Linked DNA regions of Homo sapiens: regions 2, 3, 4, 5 and 6 are each linked to region 1. The links are contacts of gene promoters, found by promoter capture Hi-C in blood cells and fetal thymus (Javierre and others, 2016). All regions are on one chromosome and are shown on one strand. Each heading gives the region's core, a stretch centred on a gene start or on the middle of the fragment in contact. The rest is flanking DNA. Distances are from core to core; before and after follow the strand shown. Region 1 holds the start of CCDC170 (coiled-coil domain containing 170). Region 2 overlaps MTHFD1L (methylenetetrahydrofolate dehydrogenase (NADP+ dependent) 1 like). Region 3 overlaps SYNE1 (spectrin repeat containing nuclear envelope protein 1). Region 4 overlaps SYNE1 (spectrin repeat containing nuclear envelope protein 1). Region 5 overlaps SYNE1 (spectrin repeat containing nuclear envelope protein 1). Region 6 overlaps SYNE1 (spectrin repeat containing nuclear envelope protein 1).

Region 1 (3,501 bases), core at 72-2,571:
AAATTAATAAAGTCAAATATGAAAATGTCAGATGAAAGAAAAAACATCTAGTAACTGGCCTCTGAGTTAGAAAGAAAGAAAAAATAGTTTTATTTGCACACAGTGGTACTTATTTTCCACAAATATTCCAGGAATCAGAGAAATCTAAATACAGGTCAGATGTAAAACAACAATCAAAGCTGCTGAATATTAGAAGAATTCCGATGGCACGTTGGAGAATCCAACTCATGTTTTGAATCCACTACATCCCCCAGGGATATCTATGGTCAGTACACAGCGTGGTAGGAAAAGTCCAAAACTTTGGAAAGAAAGAAAAATCCTCCATCATTTACTAATTGGGTGAGTTACTTGCGGTTAGCAGTTGAGCTGAACACAATTCCCCCATCTCTGGCAACTACTCCCAATACACACGATACCCGGTGGGCCCCGATGCCAAGGCCAAAGGGGGATTCTTAACCCAGACTGAGCCAGCCAGATCTTCTTGTGCGCCCAAGTATGCATATGCCCGTGTTCGTGTGTGTGCGCGCCCGTGTTTGTTCGCGTATGTGCCTGTTCGCGTGTGTGCACGAGCGTCTGTGTATGCGCGCATGTTCGTGTGTGTGTGCGCGCGCGCATTGGTACATCTAATACCTGAAAGTCCCCAGTACCTAAGTAACTCCTGGGAGTAAATGAGTAGATGCATTCAGGAACAACTGAATTACCAACGTTTCTGGATTACTTCGCAACGAAAGGGCCGGTGACTCTACTCCGGGCTGGCCCTCCTCCTGCCACATCAGATTTTCCAGAAATTGCTCCGAAGCACACTTCAGTAGCTAAGCAGGGAAAGTTAAATGAAGGAATTCTTTGCTCCCAGGGGTGGCGGGGAGGAACTGCCCGGCCACAGTCTTTCGAATGTCACCGGTTTAAATGGTCAGAGAAGCAGAGTGGCACAACCTAAAATTCAGACGCGCTCCGCAAACTCCGGTCCTGCCCATCCCCTCCTGAAATCAGCGCCCTGGCAGTCCCAGGCCACAGCCCTCGCGGGCACAGAGCTGCTCTGATTCTGCCCACGCCTCCGGGAGGAAAAGGGTGCAAATCAGGGGCGCCTCGGCCCCTCCTGGGTCGTCTATCCCCAGGGCCACCCCCGCGCGCGGCCGGCGGCTGGGACCGTACCTCGGGCGCTGGCGAAGCGGCACCCAGCGCGATATGGCTGGTGCAGTCCAGGCTCATGACGACCCGAGCCCGGGGGCGCGCTCGGACCCGGAACCGGCCCTGAGGAAGCGGCGGCGCCGGGAGCCGGCGGGTGGCGCGGGTGTCTCCTCGGGCAACGGGTAAACACCGCGGGGACGCGGCGGCGCGCGGCTGCGCGCGAGTAGGGTGGCCCGGCCGCAGGAGGCCGGGGTGGACCCCGAACCCCCGAGCGTGGCCTCCGTGGCGAGGGCCTGCAACTGAGCGGCCGAAACTGCCAGGGCGACCTGGGGGGAGTCGGCGGGGATAACGGTCGGTCCTCCCGGTGGGACTCTGCAGTGAATGCAATTCCAGGCCTCATCCTTATGTCAGCGATAAATACAGCCAGTGGGCACTGTGAACGGTGCTGGCGCGAGTGAGGCATAGGAAACTTCACAAGGGTGAACGGAGCATTTATTTAGCACACACTGTGTGCAAATGTGTCTGCGAGCGTGCAACCTGTGCAGGTCCGGGTCCTGCGCTTGGTTTAATACTCAGCTGTCCCAGTCTTGACGTTTTTAGGAAGTTTTGAACAAGGTGTCCTGCATTTTCATTCTGTACCGGGGTCCACAAATTATGTAGCCTGCCCTGGTGTGCGTTCTTTCATTTCACCTTCTCAACAACCCTGCCTGGAAGTACGGGTACTAGTAATACCAGTGTTAGTAACAGCCACAGCTGCTCATTATGAAATACTCGTGCTCGTCCATGCACTGTTCTAAGTGCTTCCCACGTATGATCAATCTCCTTAAATGAAACAAGATTATGAAGTGGATGTTAGAATAATCCATCTGCAAGACAAGGCAACAGTCACAGGGAAATAAAATAAAATTTCCAAGATGTACAGGGTAAGTGGTAGAATGAAGATCAGGCTCCAGATCATAACACTAAAGCACAGAGAAGATGAGTAACTTGTTTAAGGTCCCACAATTTGTAGCAGAATCTGAAAATGGAATCTGCATTCACCTCACTTTAAAGCTTTTGGTGGGCCAGGCGCGGTGGCTCACTCCTGTAATCCCAACACTTTTGGGAGGCTGAGATGGGTGGATCACTTGAGGTCAGGAGTTTGAGACCAGCCTGGCCAAGAAGGTGAAACCCTGTCTCTACTAAAAATACAAAAATTAGCCGGGCGTGGTAGCGGACACCTGTAATACAGCTATTTGAGAGGCTGAGGCAGGGAAAATCATTTGAACCTGGGAGGCAGAGGTTGCAGTGAGCCAAGATTGAGCCACTGCACTCCAGCCTGGGTGACAGAGCAAGAATCTGCCTCAAAAAAAAAAAAAAAAAAAAAGAAAAAAGCCTTTAGTAGACTCCTATGCTGTTTGAGACACATGAAATCAAACAGGTGGGAGGATTGCTTGAGGCCAGGAGTTTGAGACCAGCCTGGGCAATACAGCAAGACTCTATCTCTACAAGTTTTTTTTTTTTTTTTTTAAATTAGCCAGGCATGGTGGTGCACACCTGTAGTCCTAGCTACTCAGAAGGCTAAGGCGGGGCCAGGTGAGGTGGCTCATACCTATAATCCCAGTACTTTGGGAGGCTGAGGCAGGTGGATCACCTGAGGTCAGGAGTTCGAGACCAGCCTGGCCAACATAGTGAAACCCTGTCTCTACTAAAAATACAAAAATTAGCTAGGTGTGGTGGCACATGCCTGTAATCCCAGCTACTTGGGAGGCTGAGGCAGGAGAATCGCTTGAACCTGGGAGGCGGAGGTTGCAATAAGCTGAGATAGCACCACTGTACTCCAGCCTGGGTGACAGAGCAAGACGCCATCTTAAAAAAAAAAAAAAAAAAGAAAGCTAAAGCAGGAGGATAGCTTTGAGCCCAGGAGGTCAAGGCTGCAGTGAGCTATGATCACCACTGCACTCCAGCCTGGGCGACAGAGCAAGAGCATGTCTCTAAAGACAACACAAAAAGGCAAAATCAGAGCTATGGCAGCTTTTCTTGGATTCCATCAGTCATCCTATGTGCATTCATATTGACCCTGAGGATTTCTTCATCTGGACAATGGCTTTTGAGCTCACGGTAACTTTGCCATATATCTAATCCAGAATCATCTCAAGGCTTTCACTTGATGCACCGTTAAAGAAAAAGTTCTTAATGAAAACTTAGGCTTTCAGAAATCTCCTATTAATAGTACAATTTGGAGTAAACACATTTTTAAGTTGTAGTTTTTCCTTGCAGTAGAACCACTACAAACTTGTCAAATTTTCTTTTCTTTTTTTTTTTCAAACAGAGTTTCGCTCGTTACCTAGGCTGGAGTTCAATGGAGCGATCTCTGCTCACTGCAAACTCCGC
Region 2 (3,233 bases), core at 606-3,105, 590 kb after region 1:
GTTAATTCTTTCTGGAAAGGAAAAGTGCTAGATGCTTAAATCAGTAAATAGCCTGCCCAGGACAAGGGAAGATTTTAATGAGCTAAAATTCAAGGAAAATTATCATCTCACTTGTTCCTATTTTCCTCCTCCCAAATGGGAGAGACCCTGGCCAAAGCTTGGCTTAAAACTCTATCTCATAACAAATTATTGCTTTCTCTGCTGAGACTTGAGTGGAGCAGCTTAAAGCAAACCACCCCACTCCCCAGGCAGACAAGTGAATTTTAAACAACAGTAAGACACAGATATGCAGACACTTAACAGGGAGCGTGTGGGGGTGCAGTAGTTTAGATAACATGAAGACGAATTTTCTCAAAGTCATGAATTTTTAAGCTGGAGGGACAAGCATCTGAATATAAAGAGATGGGGGAAAGGGAGGACAGATGAGATTTGGAAAGTTATACAGAATATTATAATTTTGTATTTAGCAAATAAAATGCATTAAAATGTTTTAAACTAAATACAGCGCTACCCTCTTGACTAGAAGACAGTATGTATCTTCTGCTATCAATGTGTTTTGAAACAGTTCATATCATATGAGAATCTGAGGTATGAGATCTGTATATATTTCAAAATCCAGAATGGGTAAAAAAAAAAAGATATTTTCTAAAGAATTGTGGTTTATATCACTTGAGACCTATGAAAACTGTTTCTATGTCCTTCAAATGTTACCAACACAGTTCAGAAAACCAAGTTAAATTCCTCATGAGGGTCAGCTGAATAAAAAAGAAAGAAAACAATGTTCAAAATGATGAACATTACTTTAAAAAATTAACAGGTAGGTTCTTTGTCCAGCAAGGATGTGCTTCTGAAATTACAATAACTAAAGACATTGGCATTCTCAACTAGTGCCTGAGTGATGGCCAGTCAATGGTCAGACACAGAGAACAGAGCAGGGTCTGGAGGGCAGGGAGGGGGCTCTACCACACTGAGGTGGTCCCTTGCTTGATTTTCACTCTCAATGAACTGGGACACACTGTAGTTTATGTAGTTTATGTGCGCCCAGTTAAGTGGCTTTATGGGTTACATTATGCTCCACGGCAGATTCTTCACAAGGCTTTATTTAATTAATTTATTTATTTTTGGAGACGGGGTCTCACTCTGTCCTCTAGGCTGGAATGCAGTGGCACTGCAGTCTCAGCTCACTGCAGCCCTGACTTCTGGGCTTAAGCGATCCTCCTACCTCAGCCTCTAAGTAGCTGGGACTATAGATGTGCTTCACCATGCTCAGTTCATTTTGTTTTTTAAATATTTTTTGTAGAGACAGGGTTTCACCATGTTGCCCAGGCTGGTCTTGAATTCCTGGGCTCAAGTGATCTGCCCGCCTGGGCCTTCCAAAGTGTTGGGATTACAGGCGTGAGCCACTGTGCCACATGCTTTATGATCAGACAGGGCATGTCCATGAAAATCTTAGGTAGTAAGGGGACTCCTAGACTACCTTGTGGCAAAGTTTCTATAAAGAGTTAGATGTCACTTTTCTAAGAAAAACATCACTTTTCTCAGATGTCAAAATGTGTGCACTTTTTCTTTTCTTTTCTTTTTTTTTTTTGAGACGAGTCTCACTCTGTCGTCCAGGCTGGAGTGCAGTGGCGCGATCCCGGCTCACTGCAAGCTCCGCCTCCTGGGTTCATGCCATTCTCCTGCCTCAGCCTCCCGAGTAGCTGGGACTACAGGCACCTGCCACCATGCCCGGCTAATTTTTTGTATTTTCAGTAGAGACAGGGTTTCACCATGTTATCCAGGATGGTCTCGATCTCCTGACCTCGTGATCTGCCCGCCTCAGCCTCCCAAAGAGCTGGGATTACAGGCGTGAGCCACCGCGCCCGGCCGCACTTTTTCTTAATATAGAAAAGAAGCTGTCAGGTTGGGCTACAGTATGTGGCTCACACAGTCAGATGTGTTTTAGGAAGATTCCTCTGGAAGCTGGATTGAGAATGCCTTAGAAGGGGTAGGAGGAAAAGCAAGATACTGAGATCTCCTGGAGGAGGCGTCTGCAGGAAGCTGGGGGCCCGGGTCTGGAACTGAGAATGGCCTGGGAGCATGCGGATGCGGGTCGGGACACACAGCATTTAGGTGATGGTTAAAACCAGAAGTGTGGATTCCCCAGGGGAAACTGGCAGAATGGGAAGGAAAGCAGGTTAACAGACATCCTTGGGGAGCACTAATCTTAAATGGTTAGAGATAACGAACAGATGATGGAGACCACCATGTCCTGGTGGCTCAGGAGCTACGAAGGGCAGGAAGGGGCATTTTCATTCAGGCTAAGGGAAAAGGGTGTGGCCAACAGGTTTATATGACAGCTGTGGTCAAGCAAGATAAAAGCAAAAAATACACTTTTGGCAATTAGGAACTACCGGTGACTCACTTTTGGCAATTAGGAACTACTGGTGACTTTGCTACAGAAATGGGCATTAGGAACCATGCCTAATACAGTCCTGCCATTACTGTAGACTGTGTTGCCTGCAAATGGAGATTTCATTCAGGCAGACTGTTTCATAAGCAGATGCCTTGTTTATTCATTTATATATATAAAAATATAAATATATAATATATAATATAATATAAAAAATATATATATATCTATTTTTTTTTGAGATGGAATCTCACTCTGTGGCCCAGGCTGGAGTGCAGTGGTGCAATCTCAGCTCGCTGCAACCTCTGCCTCCTGGGTTCAACGATTCTCCTGTCTCAGCCTCCTGAGTAGCTAGGATTACAGGCGCATGCCACCACACCCAGCTAATTTTTGTATTTTTAGTAGAGATGGAGTTTCCCCATGTTGGTCAGGCTGGTCTCACACTCCTGACCTCATGATCCGCCTGCCTCGGCCTCCCAAAGTGCTGGGATTACAGGCGTGAGCCACTGCACCCAGCCTATGCATTAATTTTTTTTAACTCTGAATGTCTAACTTTGTATTTGAAATTAAATGAACATTGATCATAAGAGTATTGCTTTGTAGCTATGAATCTGTATCTACCTTTCCCCTGCAGTATTAAAACATATCATTAAATAGGAATGTTAAAATAATAGTATAACTACTCTAAACTAAGAACATCAAACCATCTTCATTCAGATGTTGTCGTACTTTGGCAAGATAAGGGGATGACAATTGCAGCAAAAGGTATTTTACCCACTTCACGTCCACCCAGTGATCTCATCCTGGGAGAATTTTTTTCCTTTCAGGAATTGGGTGTGTT
Region 3 (3,211 bases), core at 513-3,012, 630 kb before region 1:
GTGTTTTACCTCATTTAACCCTCACAAGAATCCCATGACATGGCTATATTCCCAATTTATAGACAAGGACACTGGGGATTAGAGGTGTAAAGATGTAGGATTTGAACCCAGGTCTCCCCTGACTCCAGACCCTACCCCGTTAACCGTACCACTCTGCTGAAGGGCCATTGATGGGTAGAAGCCTTTAAACAATGGTTTTAGAGCTGAGGCCACCACAGGCTGCCTCAGGTAGTTTAGGATTAGCAAGAATGTTTGGTTTGGAAAAAAAGAAGACCTGGGTCCTAACTTGATTCTGGAAACTTGTCTCCTGAACCATATATCCAGGAAACACTGGGTTTCAAAGACAAGACACATAAGGGCAGGATCAAGATCACGGACAATCTAGATGTTTCTGCAAAATAAATCTGTTACATACTGCCAGTGTTAGCCGAAAAGTAACAAAATAAATTAGAAGTTTCTTCTCATTTGGCTTTAAATGATGCATGCACGAAATTAACTCATTTTCATTTCCTTGATTATAAACAATTTTCAAAGTGAGTCATACCCTATGTGCATGGCATTCAGACTTCTCACAATTGTGTGTCCTACACACTTTCTTTTGAAGGGTGTGATTTTAGCCACTACTCCCTCCCTGCCATTCTCCTTATCCCGCAATTGTCTAGGTATTTTGGGACAGAGATGAAGCAACTCCTGGGCAGCTATTTACCTGGAAATTTGAAGGAGTGAGGGAAGTGAGAAAAATAAATAAAAATTTACTTGTAGCAAATAAGCACGTTTTTTGCTGGACAGAACTATCTGATATATCTGTATTGATGATGTTCCTTAAGGAGGCTCACACATTTAATTTTTCCTATATAAACACAATCTAAACTGGCATCCATGTATGTAATAAGACCAGAGGAGAATGACCAGTGGGTAGTCAACAAGTTGCCTTTGTTCTTTCCCTTATGAAATTTCCCAAGACTCTAGAAACTTAGGTGATTTTTAGCACAGTAGCTAAATATTAAAAATAACCCTTTCCCTGGGACCATTAGCTTCTTGATACTAAAATCGCTAGAACAAGTTCCCCCTGAAGATGAGGCAGCTTTGGGCATGTTGAAACTCTGGTAATTACCCCAAGGGGACAGGCATTTTCCCAGTGGATAGTTCGGATATTTTCAAGGGCAGCCAGCTGCACGGACAGTCACTGAATATTGTGTGTTCTCTCTGTCCCCATCTCAGCCCATGACTTCTTCCTAGCTTGGCGTTCTTCAGCATTAGAAGTCATGCACAAATTAAATTTTAATAAAAAATGCTCTGATGCTGTTAAATGTGCCATGTCCTTCAACAGACTCCAACATAGGAGTCCACATTCTGTAAATGGTGACATTTTTATCAAAAATGGGCAAGTAAATTAGTCTCTCTGGCCTTCAGTTTTCTCATTTGCAAAGATGAGGGGTGCATTAATATCCTAAAATTATTTTGGCTGTCATGATTTATGATTCAATGGTTTGCCATTTTTCTCAGGAGTGAACAGGTCAATGGGCAGCCCTTGTTTTGATCTTGATCTTTGACCTAATTGCACAAAGAATTTAACAGTTGACAAACAGGAGCTATTCAGCTCTGTCAGATTGTACTATCAATTATATATGTAAATCTTCCCATCACTAAAGTTCTTAAATGTCTCCTAATGAAAATTAGTCAGGTATTTAATAACTAGGAATTGTGGGAGCTCTCTTCAGTCACTCTGTTATAACTCATCTAGCTACAGGTGTTGAGTGTTGGTTGCCAGGGCATATTTTAAAGTCAGGGGAAGGATGTTTTGAAGAAAATTTGATCCAAAGTTTGTGGGTAGCTATCCTATCCTTCTTAAGACACTTTAAGGCAAACCATTGAATCATTGCAAATGAGAAAACTGAAGGCCAGAGAGACTAATTTACTTGCCCATGGTCATGTAACTGCCTCAAAACAAAATGTCCCCACGTCCACACACGGATTTGATGATCTGCAGGATACTGTGAGGCCTTATGACCAGAGGCTTTAGACACGAGGAAACCACTTGTTTCCAAATATTTTAGGATGCAAGTTCAGGATTCTCTTCTTTGCTTCTACATGTGAGATACCTGTGAAATGAATACGACCTGAATTACCATTACCATTATTCCTATCACCAACCAGCAAAACATTTCACAGCAGAGAGTGCGGTGGGCAGGGATTTTGGAAGCCTGAGTCCCTGCTAGGCCTCTTCCTTTAACTGTAGAATCTGAAGCAAGTCATTCAGCCTGTCTAGAGTCTCCAGGTTCTGGTAGTTAAAATCACAGGGTTGAAATCTTCTGCCACTGGCTGTGTGAGCTTGAGCCAGTTATTTCACTTCCCTGAGCTTTCTTTCACATCATCTGTAAAATGAAGTTAATAAGTACACACCGCAGAGGACTGCTGTGGGGATTAAATGACAGAACCCAACATAAATGCTCAGAGTGCTGCCTAGCAATTAGAAGAGTAAACATGAACTGTCCTTAGCTACTCCCCTACAAAATTAGGAGATGAACTGGATGCTCTCTAAGGCCCTGTCTCAACATGAATATTTTATGCTCAGGTAACTCAAGAAGTTTCTATTTTCCTTTTCCATTAATAAGGTATATGACATACTTCTTTTATGTTCTACTATATTTTCACAAAATATACTTTTTTTTTCCCTCAGCTTATTAGGAATAACTCATTGGTCTTAGCACAAGGGCAGTTAATCAGTTTGACCACTAGATGGTGATTGAGCTCTTGTGGCTTCTTGGGAGATTATTTATACTGACAAATCAGTAGAAGACAAAAACATCGAACAGTAAACTTTAAAGTTAGAAGACCATCTATGCTAATTTGAAGAGGTTAGTGAAGAGGTTGACACCTAGAGATGAAGTGAGTTGTTCAAGGTTACATTACCCTGCCGTTACTTGTGTGGATTTCAGAAAAGAACATGCTTCCAATTTAAACCAGTGATTTGATTTTTCCTTACACCACAAGAAGTGTATAGAAACACTGCGTGCTGCCTGTTTCTTGGGGTTTCTGCAGAACCAATATCTGTTTTTGAGATAGAGTCTCGCTCTGTTGCCCAGGATGGAGTGCAGTGGTGTTCCGATCATGGCTCACTGCAGCCTCCGCCTCCCGGGTTCAAGCGATTCTCCTGCCTCAGCCTCCCAAGTGACTGGGACTACAGGCACACGCCACCAGGCCTGACTAA
Region 4 (3,471 bases), core at 390-2,889, 810 kb before region 1:
ACTTGAGATGTCCACAAAAGACCAAGCTTTATTTCACAGACCTTTTCTCATTTGTATGATTCGTGATTTTTCCAGTTATTTATAAAGCCACAAACTCTCCAAAGAAAGGAAAATAATGAAGTATTTAATCAACAACAAAACTTCAATGTCATATGCACCCCCATCCCTGATTGTTTTACAAATGATTACTAGCATCATATTCTCTTGAAGACAGAACTTTTAAATACTAACACAGGATTAATATGTGAATTCGGGTCCCAGTAATTTTAACCTTCGTTTTATAATTAACTCTGTTTTGGCCTGTGCCTGAACAGGACTTATGTTAACATAGCTAATTGATTTTCATGTCCTTTGGGCTACATTTTACGTGGCAGATGACTGCAGGTCGCTGTCACACTTTGCTGTCACCGGTCACTGAGGAGTCTGGGGAGGAGGGAACCAACAGTGAGATTTCCTCTCCACCTGCCTGTCGCTCCCCTTCACCTGTGGCTAATACAGATGCTTCTGTTAACCAGGTACCTCCCAGTTGGCATTCCTCTAGCAATAATCTCTGGGCAGATGCAGGACTCCATTCTCTGTTTCCATTAGATCGTGGGTATGAATCTCAGACTTTGTTGCATTTGGTTCCAGGGACACACTATTAGGTGTTATAGTTGCACAAACTATGATTGTCATGTGTCTCAGTATGTCATCTCCTCTCCTGGGCTACAGAAAGTGGGATGAACAAAAATTAGGTCATGGGAATGATAGCCCAGAAGGCTCTGTTTTAAGACATTATGGCCTTAGTTTCCAGCAATCATCTGGAATGGGGTTCTGCATCCAACAGAAAATAAAAGATGTGTGTCACCATTGTAAAATAACGTGATTCGATGGCTTTATAACATGCATTGAAAATAGTGCTGGCATTTACCAGCTCAGATTTTGAAGACAGGAAACTTCCATTTATTATGTCAGACTTCTTCTTTATTTGCAACTTGTGTACCAATGTAAGGAATGTCTGCCATATTTATACTAGAATGCCTACTAGATTTGAGTGTTTAACTTATCTTTCAATAATCTTAAATTTTATTTTCTATAAAATGGGGAAAATAAAATAACCATTTAGTTATAAGAAGCCTTTTACCATGTATTAAATGTAGATAATACTAAATTAAATGTCAAAAAGCTTTTATGTCAAATGTTAGATAGAAATCAAAAATATGCCTTTATAGTAACCAAAGACTTTTAATGCATGTTAAGTAATACTTTATTTTTTAGTGAAGACAACTAAAAAATGTAAACTATTCTATGAAATTACATTTTTTCAAAGAAGTTGATATGTATTATTAAGGGAGAAGCATTAAACAGAGCAAATGTTTTATAACCTGTATTATAATTCAATTATATTACTTTTATTTTAAAGCAGAAGCATTCAGACTGTCATAGGATTTCTGTGATAAAGAGAATCCCCCCTCATTAAAAAAAAAAAGGAACATCAAGGTGATGAAACCTTTAGTTAATACACTTACACTGTTCTCTTGGTAAAAATCAGGATAGCTCTAGGGAAATTATCAACTCATCCATTTGTCAAGTACATTCTGACACCTGCTCAGCGTGAAACCTTGTGTTGGTTCCTGAGGATGCAGCTGAGAAGGAGTCAGCATGGCCCTACCTGCAAGGCCCTGACAGTCTAGAGAGAAAGGCAGACATGGGACAGATAATAACAATGTGATCAGAGGAAACTAAAAACAGCAACATAAAAGGAGAAGTTCAGGGAGCCGTGGGGAATTTGGGAAAGTGTTTTTCAAATTCTCATTTTAAAATATGTATTACTCATTCTTTGATGATTTGTCCTTCCCTATGGTTACAGATGTTATTACAGAAATTAAGCTATAGTCGGCTGATTATTATATAGAAAAAATTGTTCTATTTAATATGGTTTAGGTTCTCAAATTTTTCAAACTGAATAATAAATACTTATTTGAGACTTTGTGGAAAAAATATACCTTTTCTAAAACTGTAAATCTCCATGCTACTTCTTGTAAAGTGTCAAAGGATACATGAAAGTGCCCTAAAAATGATGAAACATGCAAATATTTCTATTATTATTTCTTGACATTAACCACAAAGCTTCATCAGGTCCTAAAACTCAGTGAGATTAGGCTTTGTTTTAATTCTTCCCCTCTCCCCTAGTCACAGGAAAACATCAATTAAATTGCATTGTTAATCTAAAATACTTACATGTGATGCTGCAAAGTAGGGGAAAATGCCTTTACTTAGATTAAGACACACAGCTTTACTCTGAGGGAGCTGTTAAAAAGGAAATGTATTATGCTTGGTGTTCATCAAACAAATCAACCCCATCATTACGGCCACATGTTATTTTTGTATAGTAATGTCAGTTAGAAGACAATGAAAAAATATGACACCATGACCGGTGATGCACTGGATTTATAAAATTGTCTCTTGAAACTGAGGAGGACATGTAGGATCCCCTTAAGTTTCAGTTTTCAGATTAAAAACCCTGAGTTTTGTGCACAGAATGTGTACAGCTGTTTCAGGGAGCAGCCAAATAGAACTGCTTTATAAAATCACAGTTGTTAAAAAAAAAAAAGGTTTTGTGCCTGCTGTTCCTGCAAGTAGATCTCCGTTATATAACTACCTGGTCCCACTCACAGTGTATTCTGTCTCTGACAGTAGCTATTAGCTAAAATGTAATAACAGTTTAGCTTACTTGAAGGTAGAAATACCGAGGCATTCCTAGATTTTGCTGTAGGCTTCTTGATTCCCCTTAGAAGCAAGCCAAGGCTTAGACTCTGCAGAAGAGTTGAGGGAGGAATACATTTGAAAAGAGGGAGCAAGAGTGTAATGGGAAAATCATTGGCCTTCAAGTTAAAAGCTCACACTGAGTTGCAGCTCTTTCTCCTCTAAGCTGAGTGCACCTGGGAAGTCCCTTGATACCCTCATTTGTAAGTGAGAAGCAATACTACTTAATTCACAGCATTGTGAAAATGAAATGTGACATGAATCGTGAAAGTGCTTTTTAAACTAGAAAATACTGATCAAATAGTAGCTACAGTTGTCCAAATTTATTTCCTTAGGAATCTACTCATAAGTCTTATAACTTAGGCACATAAGCAATGAGAAACGTATTTGTAACAGTGACTCCTCACTACATCAAGTATTGACTTTAGTAGTTATTTATAGTACTGAGTGATTTATTTTAATTCAATTTATGTATGTACCTCAAATAAATAGAAATTATTCATCTATAAAAGGTGACATATTTTCAAATCCTTTTAAGAAACCAGGAGTTGTCATTCATATCTGTAGGCATGAGCCACGTGCGCGCGCACACACACACACACACACACACACACACACACACACACACAGAGTGAGACTGCCAGAAAAAAATTATTTGTAATAAATTTATTTTATTCTAGCTCTTTTGGGAGCCTTCTGTATTTATAATAGAGTATCTAATGTAAA
Region 5 (3,161 bases), core at 492-2,991, 820 kb before region 1:
GCTTTTCTTCTTAGACATTGGAAGATCTACTGGGAAGGATGACTTGGCAAGTTCATGGTCTTTTTATATTTTTGAGACAGAGTCTCGCTCTGTCCCCCAGGCTGGAGTGCAGTGAAACAATCTCAGCTTACTGCAACCTCCTGGGTTTAAGCAGTTCTCGTGCCTCAGCCTCCCAAGTAGCTGGGATTCCAGGCATGCACCACCATACCCGGCTAATTTTTTGTATTTTTAGTAAAAAGAGACAAGGTTTTGCCATGTTGGCCAGCCTGGTCTCAAACTCCTGGCCTCAAGTGAGCTGCCTGCCTCAGCCTCCCAAAGTGCTGGGATTACAGGTGTGCACCTCTGTGCACAGCCATGGTTTTTCTTTGTTTGTTTGTTTGTTTTTTTAGTTAAAATTTAAGCTTTTCTCTGGATTAATTTTCCTATCATAGCCTTATTCATATGTATTTCATTTACTTTGACACTCAAAATAATGAAGGCCAAAACACACCATTAACTCTCTTTTAATGGTGTGTTTTCTCCCTACTAAAGAGGTTTTTTTAAAGACCTTTAACTACATAAAGAAATGTTTCTTCTCTTTAATGTCTTTTCTTCGGCATTTTATTCTAAGCAACAGTGTGAATGTTTGTTATCAAATCAAACCAAAGTCACTGGAAATTTGTAAATGCGAACTGTCTTTTTTCACCTTCCTTTCCATTGGATGTACTTAATGCTTGGTTGGCATACTATAGAGCTGTAGTCGGAAAGTTACAAAAAGAGTTAACAGATCATTAAGAGTCATTTATTAAAAGGTGCTTGGAAACAAATCAGTGTGCTTCCAACTGTTTGGGAGGATTTTCCATCTTATGAAGAAAAAGGCTTAGAGGAGTTTGTGTGCTCAAGGTCATTACGTTAGTTAATGGAGAAGATAGGATTCAAACTCAGCTGTCTACACAACCATCTATAATGAGTATTCTGTAAATATTTAATAAGTGAATTTCTCTACACACATTGCTTGTATCTTTGCTGGAACACAAGGAGTGCAGTAAATACTTAAAGATAGTGAAGTCAGGGAAAGCCAGGAGGGCTTGTAACTAATCGCACATCGCTGGTGTGACCAGGTGTTTCAATGCCAAAGCAGTTAAAATGTGTCTTGTCAACATCATTTGAGATTTTTAGTATCTATTATTCACTTTTAACCATGGCTTGTTTTGCTGTTCTTACTGATTTTTTTAGATCCAAGACAAAATAAAAGAAGTTGAGCAGAGCAAGGCCACGAGCCAGGAACTCAGCCGGCAAATTCAGAAGTTAGCTAAAGACCTCACAACTATTCTAACTAAGCTGAAAGCGAAGACAGATAATGTAGTTCAAGCTAAAACTGACCAAAAGGTAAGAAGTAGAATTTTAAAGGGTACTACTGAATGAATTAAATAGTTTTTGGAGTCAGTTTTACTTGGGGATATAGGATAAAAACCTTTTAGGAACCTTTTTTAAAACCAAATAGTAACAGCAGGTGGTAAAGAAATTTTGTAACTGAAGCAACACAGATCCTCTTACATAATTGATCATTATAATTGAACAGTATTAATAAATATACATGCATGAGTGTGTACGAAAGAAGAGCGTCAAAGGACTAAGTGATGATTTAGGAATACAAGTATATAAATTCCAAACTGAATTGTGTCCTTGGTAGCTAAATCTGTGTTCTTCCTCTGTTGATGAGTTCAGGGACTCTAATCCTTTTTGGGTGGGGCAGAAGGAAAATGTTAGCCTTCTCACTCAGCCTCATAGGAAATAAACACCAGCATTACAACATATCCTGCCCTGCCTTTCCAACCGAAGAAACAAAAATGACCTGATCATAGTAGAATTATAGTAGAATTATTCATTATAATATTTGGCTTTGACAAAAATCAGTCTGATCTCGGGAAACCTGGAGAAATTTATTTTCTGTACTCTAATGTTCTTTCATTTTGGTGACCATCAAGGTGCTGGGAGAGGAATTAGATGGCTGTAATTCAAAGTTAATGGAATTAGATGCAGCAGTACAGAAATTCTTGGAACAGAATGGCCAACTGGGTAAGCCACTGGCCAAGAAGATAGGAAAACTGACTGAACTTCACCAGCAGACCATTAGACAAGCTGAGAATCGGCTCTCCAAGCTCAATCAGGTATGTGTTCCGGGCCAGAAATCCAAATCGTGTAAGGCAGAAACTTCCATGTTCTGCTTTTCTCTTTTGAAAATAAATTAACATAAATAAAAAGATAAAATGGACAATGAGAGAGTAGTTTAGGTGTAGCTTATTTCATGCTACACTTGTGATCCTAAGACTTAGGTATAAACCAGCACTTACTTTATATCCAGCCATATGATAAAGTCACTGACAAAGGTGGTCCTACAAATGGACTTTGGAGTGAATATTTTGTAAAATGGAGAAGTATTTTGTAGAATGAATATTCACCCATTAACGTGTTTTATGAAATCAGTTTGGGGTGAATTCAAGTACCTTTAAGTAAGCTACATATATATCAGCTTACGTTGACTTAATAGATTCAGATTGCACGTCTGTAATAATTGTTGCATATAGACTAGACTTTTGAAATCGATTAATATAATCAGGGACAAGTTAAAACCAGGAGTTGGTAACCCATTAATTATAGTTTGAAACTTTGCCTGCTAGAATCCCCACTTGCCACCTCCTTACCCAGGGGAGGGTGAAGGAAGGGATAGAGGAAGGCCTGGCATGGTGGCTCATACCTATAATCCTAGTACTTTGGGAGGCTGAGGCAGAAGGATCACTTGAGCCTAGGAGTTTGAGACCAGCCTGGGCAACATGGTGAAACCTACAAAAGATTCAAAAATTTAACAGGGCATGGTTGGCACGTGCCTGTGGTCCCAGCTACGTGGGAGGCTGAGGTGGGAGGCTGAGCCCGTAAGATTGAGGCTGTAATTAACCATGATCCAGCTGCTGCATTCCAGCCGGGGTGACAGTAAGACCTTGGAAAAAAAAAAAAAAGAAAAAAGAAAAAAGAAAGAAAAAGAGGAATAATTCAATCATATTAAGAACTTGAGCTTTATCCTAAGGTCACTGAGAAAGCTTTGACAGATTTTAACAGGGAAACGATCTTTTGATACCATTGAATATCATAGGTATTATAATGATCAACCCCTAAGACTGTTG
Region 6 (3,659 bases), core at 813-3,312, 780 kb before region 1:
GGGATCCCTTGAACCCAGTAGATGGAGGCCGCAGTGAGCCATGTTCATGCCAAAGCACTCCAGCCTGGGCAACAGAACAAGACCCTCCCTCAAAAAAAAACAAAAACAAAAAAGGGCCAGGTGCAGTGGCTCTCACTCCTGTAATCCCAGCACTTTGGGAGGCCGAGGTGGGCGGATCATGAGGTCAGGAGATCTAGACCATCCTAGCTAACACGGTGAAACCCCGTCTCTACTAAAAAACAAAACAGTAGCCGGGCATAGTGGTGGGCGCCTGTAGTCCCAGCTGCTCGGGAGGCTGAGGCAGGAGAATGGCGTGAACCTGGGAGGCGGAGCTTGCAGTGAGTCAAGATCGCTCCACTAAACTCCAGCCTGGGCGACAGAGTGAGATTCTGTCTAAAAAAATAAAAATAAATTAAAAAATATAAAAAAAAAGCCTACAGACTACTTACTCGTCAAGGCCGTGGGAAAACTACAAAAAATCATGAAAGCCTGTCCGTTTCGTAAAAGACTCCAAAGGGCTGTATTTCACTGTGGGAAACAGTCTTTGCAGAGGCTGGGGAGATGTGTGAGTTTCATTCTTATTTCTGTTGCTGCAGAATATGCTGGTGGAAATAGAGCAGAAGGTGGTGGCTTTATCAGAACTGTCAGTCCACAATGAGAACCTGCTGCTGGAGGGCAAAGCTCACACCAAGGACGAGGCCGAGCAGCTGGCTGGAAAGCTGAGAAGGCTCAAGGGGAGCCTGCTGGAGCTGCAGAGAGCCCTGCATGATAAGCAGCTCAACATGCAGGTGAGGGTTCCAGCCGCTGGCCCACAGCTGAAAGTTGGCACACTGTTCACGTGCTCCTTCTAAGGTTTGCCAGGTAAAGGAACAGGTTGGCGGTGACGCGTACTTGTGTGTGTACCTGCTTTACGCTGACATTTTAGCATGCAGCTTTAAGTTTACACTCTTGGACTTTGGCAAACATTTGCAAATAGATTTTGTTAGGACTACTAACAACAGCTGTTCAGCGGAGTGGTGGAGGCAAAAAGCACTCTGACATGAAAGTAACAATGAGAGGAGAGGAACTGGAGAGGGAAAGTAAAGGCTACTCCAGGAGTGTTGCTGTAAAGTGGTATATAGAGGAATGAGATAAGCTATAAGGAGAAGTGGGTCAAAGAAAATTTTATCTCTTTTTTTCTTTTACATTCATCACAATTTGAGTATTTCATTTTAAGATCAGAAAAATAATAAGTTTACACGTTGATGGAAATAACTCAATAGAGGAAAAGTTGGTGAAAAAGGAATGTGGGCAGGGCGCCGTGGCTCACGCCTGTAATCCCAGCACTTTGGGAGGCCGAGACAAGCAGATCACTTGAGGTCAGGAGTTCGAGACCAGACTGGCTAACATGGTGAAACCCCATCTCTGCTAAAAATACAAAAAAAAAAAAAAATTAGCTGGGCCTTGTGGTGGACACCTGTAATCTCAGTTACTCGGGAGGCTGAGGCAGGAGAATTGCTTGAACCTGGGAGGTGGAGATTTCAGTGAGCCGAGATTATATCACTGCACTCCAGTCTGGGCGACAGAGCAAGACTCTGTCTCATAACAAAAAAAAAAAAAAAAAAAAAAAAAAGAAAAAGAAAAAGGAGTGTGATTGCAAGAACAATCTTCTTGTTGGGGAGGAAACGGATAGGATAAAAAGTACACAGGCCAGGTGCGGTGGCTCACACCTGTAATCCCAGCACTTTGGGAAGCCAAGGCTGGCAGATCATGAAGTCAGGAGATGGAGACCATCCTGGCTAACACGGTGAAACCCCGTTTCTAATAAAAATACCAAAAATTAGCCGGGCATAGTGGTGGGCGCCTGTAGTCCCAGCTACTTGGGAAGCTGAGGCAGGAGAATCTCCTGAACCTGAACCTGGGAAGCAGAGGTTACAGTGAGCTGAGATCGCACCACTGCACTCCAGCCTGGGAGACAGAGGGAGACGCCGTCTCAAAAAAAAAAAAAAAAAAAAAAAAGAGTGCAGAGTTTGGTCTTCCCTACCCTTCTTGCTAAGTAAGCCAGGGACCAAATAGTTTAGAAGCCCATTAGCTGCCCCAACCCTATAAGCATCTGATGGTATCATCTGCTCCTTCTTGTGGCCTAATCCAAACTGTGCCTTCCTTTACCATTTACACCTTTCTCCTGCAATAATGGTTGAGACCAGGCCAATCTGTTCTCCAAGTAAAATGAGGAGGGAGGGAAAGCATCTATGTTGGAATACAAATACTGGTAGGAAGTAGGACATAAATATTGTTAACGGAAACTTCATGGAAGTTCACTGTGATTGCTTCTGTTTTCTCAGTGTGAGGATGATTGTTAGGACTAACCTATGTATTTTTTTTTTCGGCTTTTTGCTGATGATATGATTATATGATATGGAAAACCAAACTTAATCAACTAAAAACTATTTAGAAGCAATGGAGAAATTTAGGAAGATGACTGGCTTATTAAAAATATGAAGTTAGGTCATTGAAAAGCATAAAAGAATCCAACAAAAAATAAAAATTAAAAAATGAAGTCAGCCGAGCACAGTGGCTCACGCCTGTATCCCCAGCAATTTGGGAGGCCAAGGCAGGTGGATCACCTGAGGTCGGGAGTTTGAGACCAGCCTGGCCAACATGGTGAAACCCCATCTCTACTAAAAATACAAAAATTAGCCGGGTGTGGTGGGGCATGCCTGTAATCCCAGCTGCTTGGGAGGCTGAGGCATGAGAACTGCTTGAACCTGGGAGGCAGAGGTTGCAGTGAGCCGAGATTGTGCCACTGTGCTCTAGCTTGGGCAACAGAGTGAAATCCTGTCTCAAAAAAAAAAAAAAAAAAAAAAGAAGTCGAGAATTTATAGTTTTTACATAGACAAAAAACAAGTTAGAGGAATAATGTAATATCCCATATAAAATTTTGAAAATGAAGAGTTTTGAGGGATTATTAGTCTTATCATATATGTGTGTGGATTTTTTTTTGTTTTTTTTTTTTTGAGACAGGGTCTTGCTCTGTCACCCAGGCTGGAGTGCAGGGACGCAATCTCAGCTCATTGCAACCTCTGCCTCCCAGTCTCAAGTAATGCTCCCACCTCAGCCTCCTGAGTAGCTGGGACTATAGGCGCGCACCACCTGCCTAGCTAATTTTTTTAATTTTTTGTAGAGATGGAGGTCTCTCAATGTTGCCCAGGCTGGTCTTCAACTCCTGAGCACAGGCAATCCACCCACCTCAGCCTCCCAAAGTGCTGAGATTATAGGCGTGAGCTACCATGCCCGGCCAGTCTAATCACATATTAAAATACAATATTACAATAATTAAAATAGTTTGGTGTTGGCGCAATAAATATGTGAACAGAAAATTAAACAATAACTATTCCAGAAAGAGATTTGGTATGTAAAGGAATTTGATAAATATTTTAGGTGGCATTACAAATCAGTGGACAAAATATGACTCACTCTGTAAATAATCACTTGAAACGTGATAAACTGTATTTTCTACCCCATATTTTACAGAAAAATGTATCACAGGTGGATCAAAGATTTCAATATAAAACTTAAGTCTGCAAGGTACTCAATGTATGATTTTTTTTTTTTAATCTTAGGATAGGGAAAACCTTTGCCAGTATACCCCAAACCCATAATTTTATAGCTTCTTTTAA

What was found. Contacts are between HindIII fragments. The CHiCAGO score rates a contact against its expected background, and 5 or more counts as called.
Region 2: a contact is called between a fragment that was not itself captured here and the fragment with the promoter of CCDC170 in region 1, in 1 of 17 cell types (total CD8 T cells). The highest score is 5.3, in total CD8 T cells.
Region 3: a fragment that was not itself captured here is called in contact with the fragment with the promoter of CCDC170 in region 1 in 1 of 17 cell types (M0 macrophages); the score reaches 6.6 in M0 macrophages.
Region 4: a contact is called between a fragment that was not itself captured here and the fragment with the promoter of CCDC170 in region 1, in 3 of 17 cell types (M0 macrophages, monocytes and M1 macrophages). The highest score is 5.7, in M0 macrophages.
Region 5: a contact is called between a fragment that was not itself captured here and the fragment with the promoter of CCDC170 in region 1, in 1 of 17 cell types (M0 macrophages). The highest score is 5.0, in M0 macrophages.
Region 6: a fragment that was not itself captured here is called in contact with the fragment with the promoter of CCDC170 in region 1 in 1 of 17 cell types (erythroblasts); the score reaches 7.9 in erythroblasts.

The regions. Positions count from the first base shown.
Region 1 is chr6:151,491,837-151,495,337 of GRCh38, reverse strand. It overlaps CCDC170 (coiled-coil domain containing 170), which reads right to left and starts at 1,321. Exons shown (of 11, transcript NM_025059.4): 1 at 1,153-1,321. The coding sequence starts at 1,209. The HindIII fragment of the contact is 3,463 bases long and covers 1-2,183 here.
Region 2 is chr6:150,899,369-150,902,601 of GRCh38, reverse strand. All of the region lies in intron 7 of MTHFD1L (methylenetetrahydrofolate dehydrogenase (NADP+ dependent) 1 like), which reads right to left. Among named protein-coding and RNA genes, the nearest start is that of MTHFD1L, 35 kb to the right of the region's middle. The HindIII fragment of the contact is 3,392 bases long and covers 160-3,233 here.
Region 3 is chr6:152,124,157-152,127,367 of GRCh38, reverse strand. All of the region lies in intron 145 of SYNE1 (spectrin repeat containing nuclear envelope protein 1), which reads left to right. It also overlaps a transcript of ESR1 not described here. Among named protein-coding and RNA genes, the nearest start is that of SYNE1-AS1, 250 kb to the left of the region's middle. The HindIII fragment of the contact is 4,815 bases long and covers 1-3,211 here.
Region 4 is chr6:152,297,685-152,301,155 of GRCh38, reverse strand. It overlaps SYNE1 (spectrin repeat containing nuclear envelope protein 1), which reads left to right. Exons shown (of 146, transcript NM_182961.4): 93 at 375-515. Among named protein-coding and RNA genes, the nearest start is that of SYNE1-AS1, 81 kb to the left of the region's middle. The HindIII fragment of the contact is 944 bases long and covers 1,168-2,111 here.
Region 5 is chr6:152,317,070-152,320,230 of GRCh38, reverse strand. SYNE1 (spectrin repeat containing nuclear envelope protein 1) reads left to right here. Exons shown (of 146, transcript NM_182961.4): 85 at 1,216-1,368; 86 at 1,968-2,150. Among named protein-coding and RNA genes, the nearest start is that of SYNE1-AS1, 62 kb to the left of the region's middle. The HindIII fragment of the contact is 2,676 bases long and covers 404-3,079 here.
Region 6 is chr6:152,275,218-152,278,876 of GRCh38, reverse strand. SYNE1 (spectrin repeat containing nuclear envelope protein 1) reads left to right here. Exons shown (of 146, transcript NM_182961.4): 98 at 597-788. Among named protein-coding and RNA genes, the nearest start is that of SYNE1-AS1, 100 kb to the left of the region's middle. The HindIII fragment of the contact is 7,041 bases long and covers 1-3,659 here.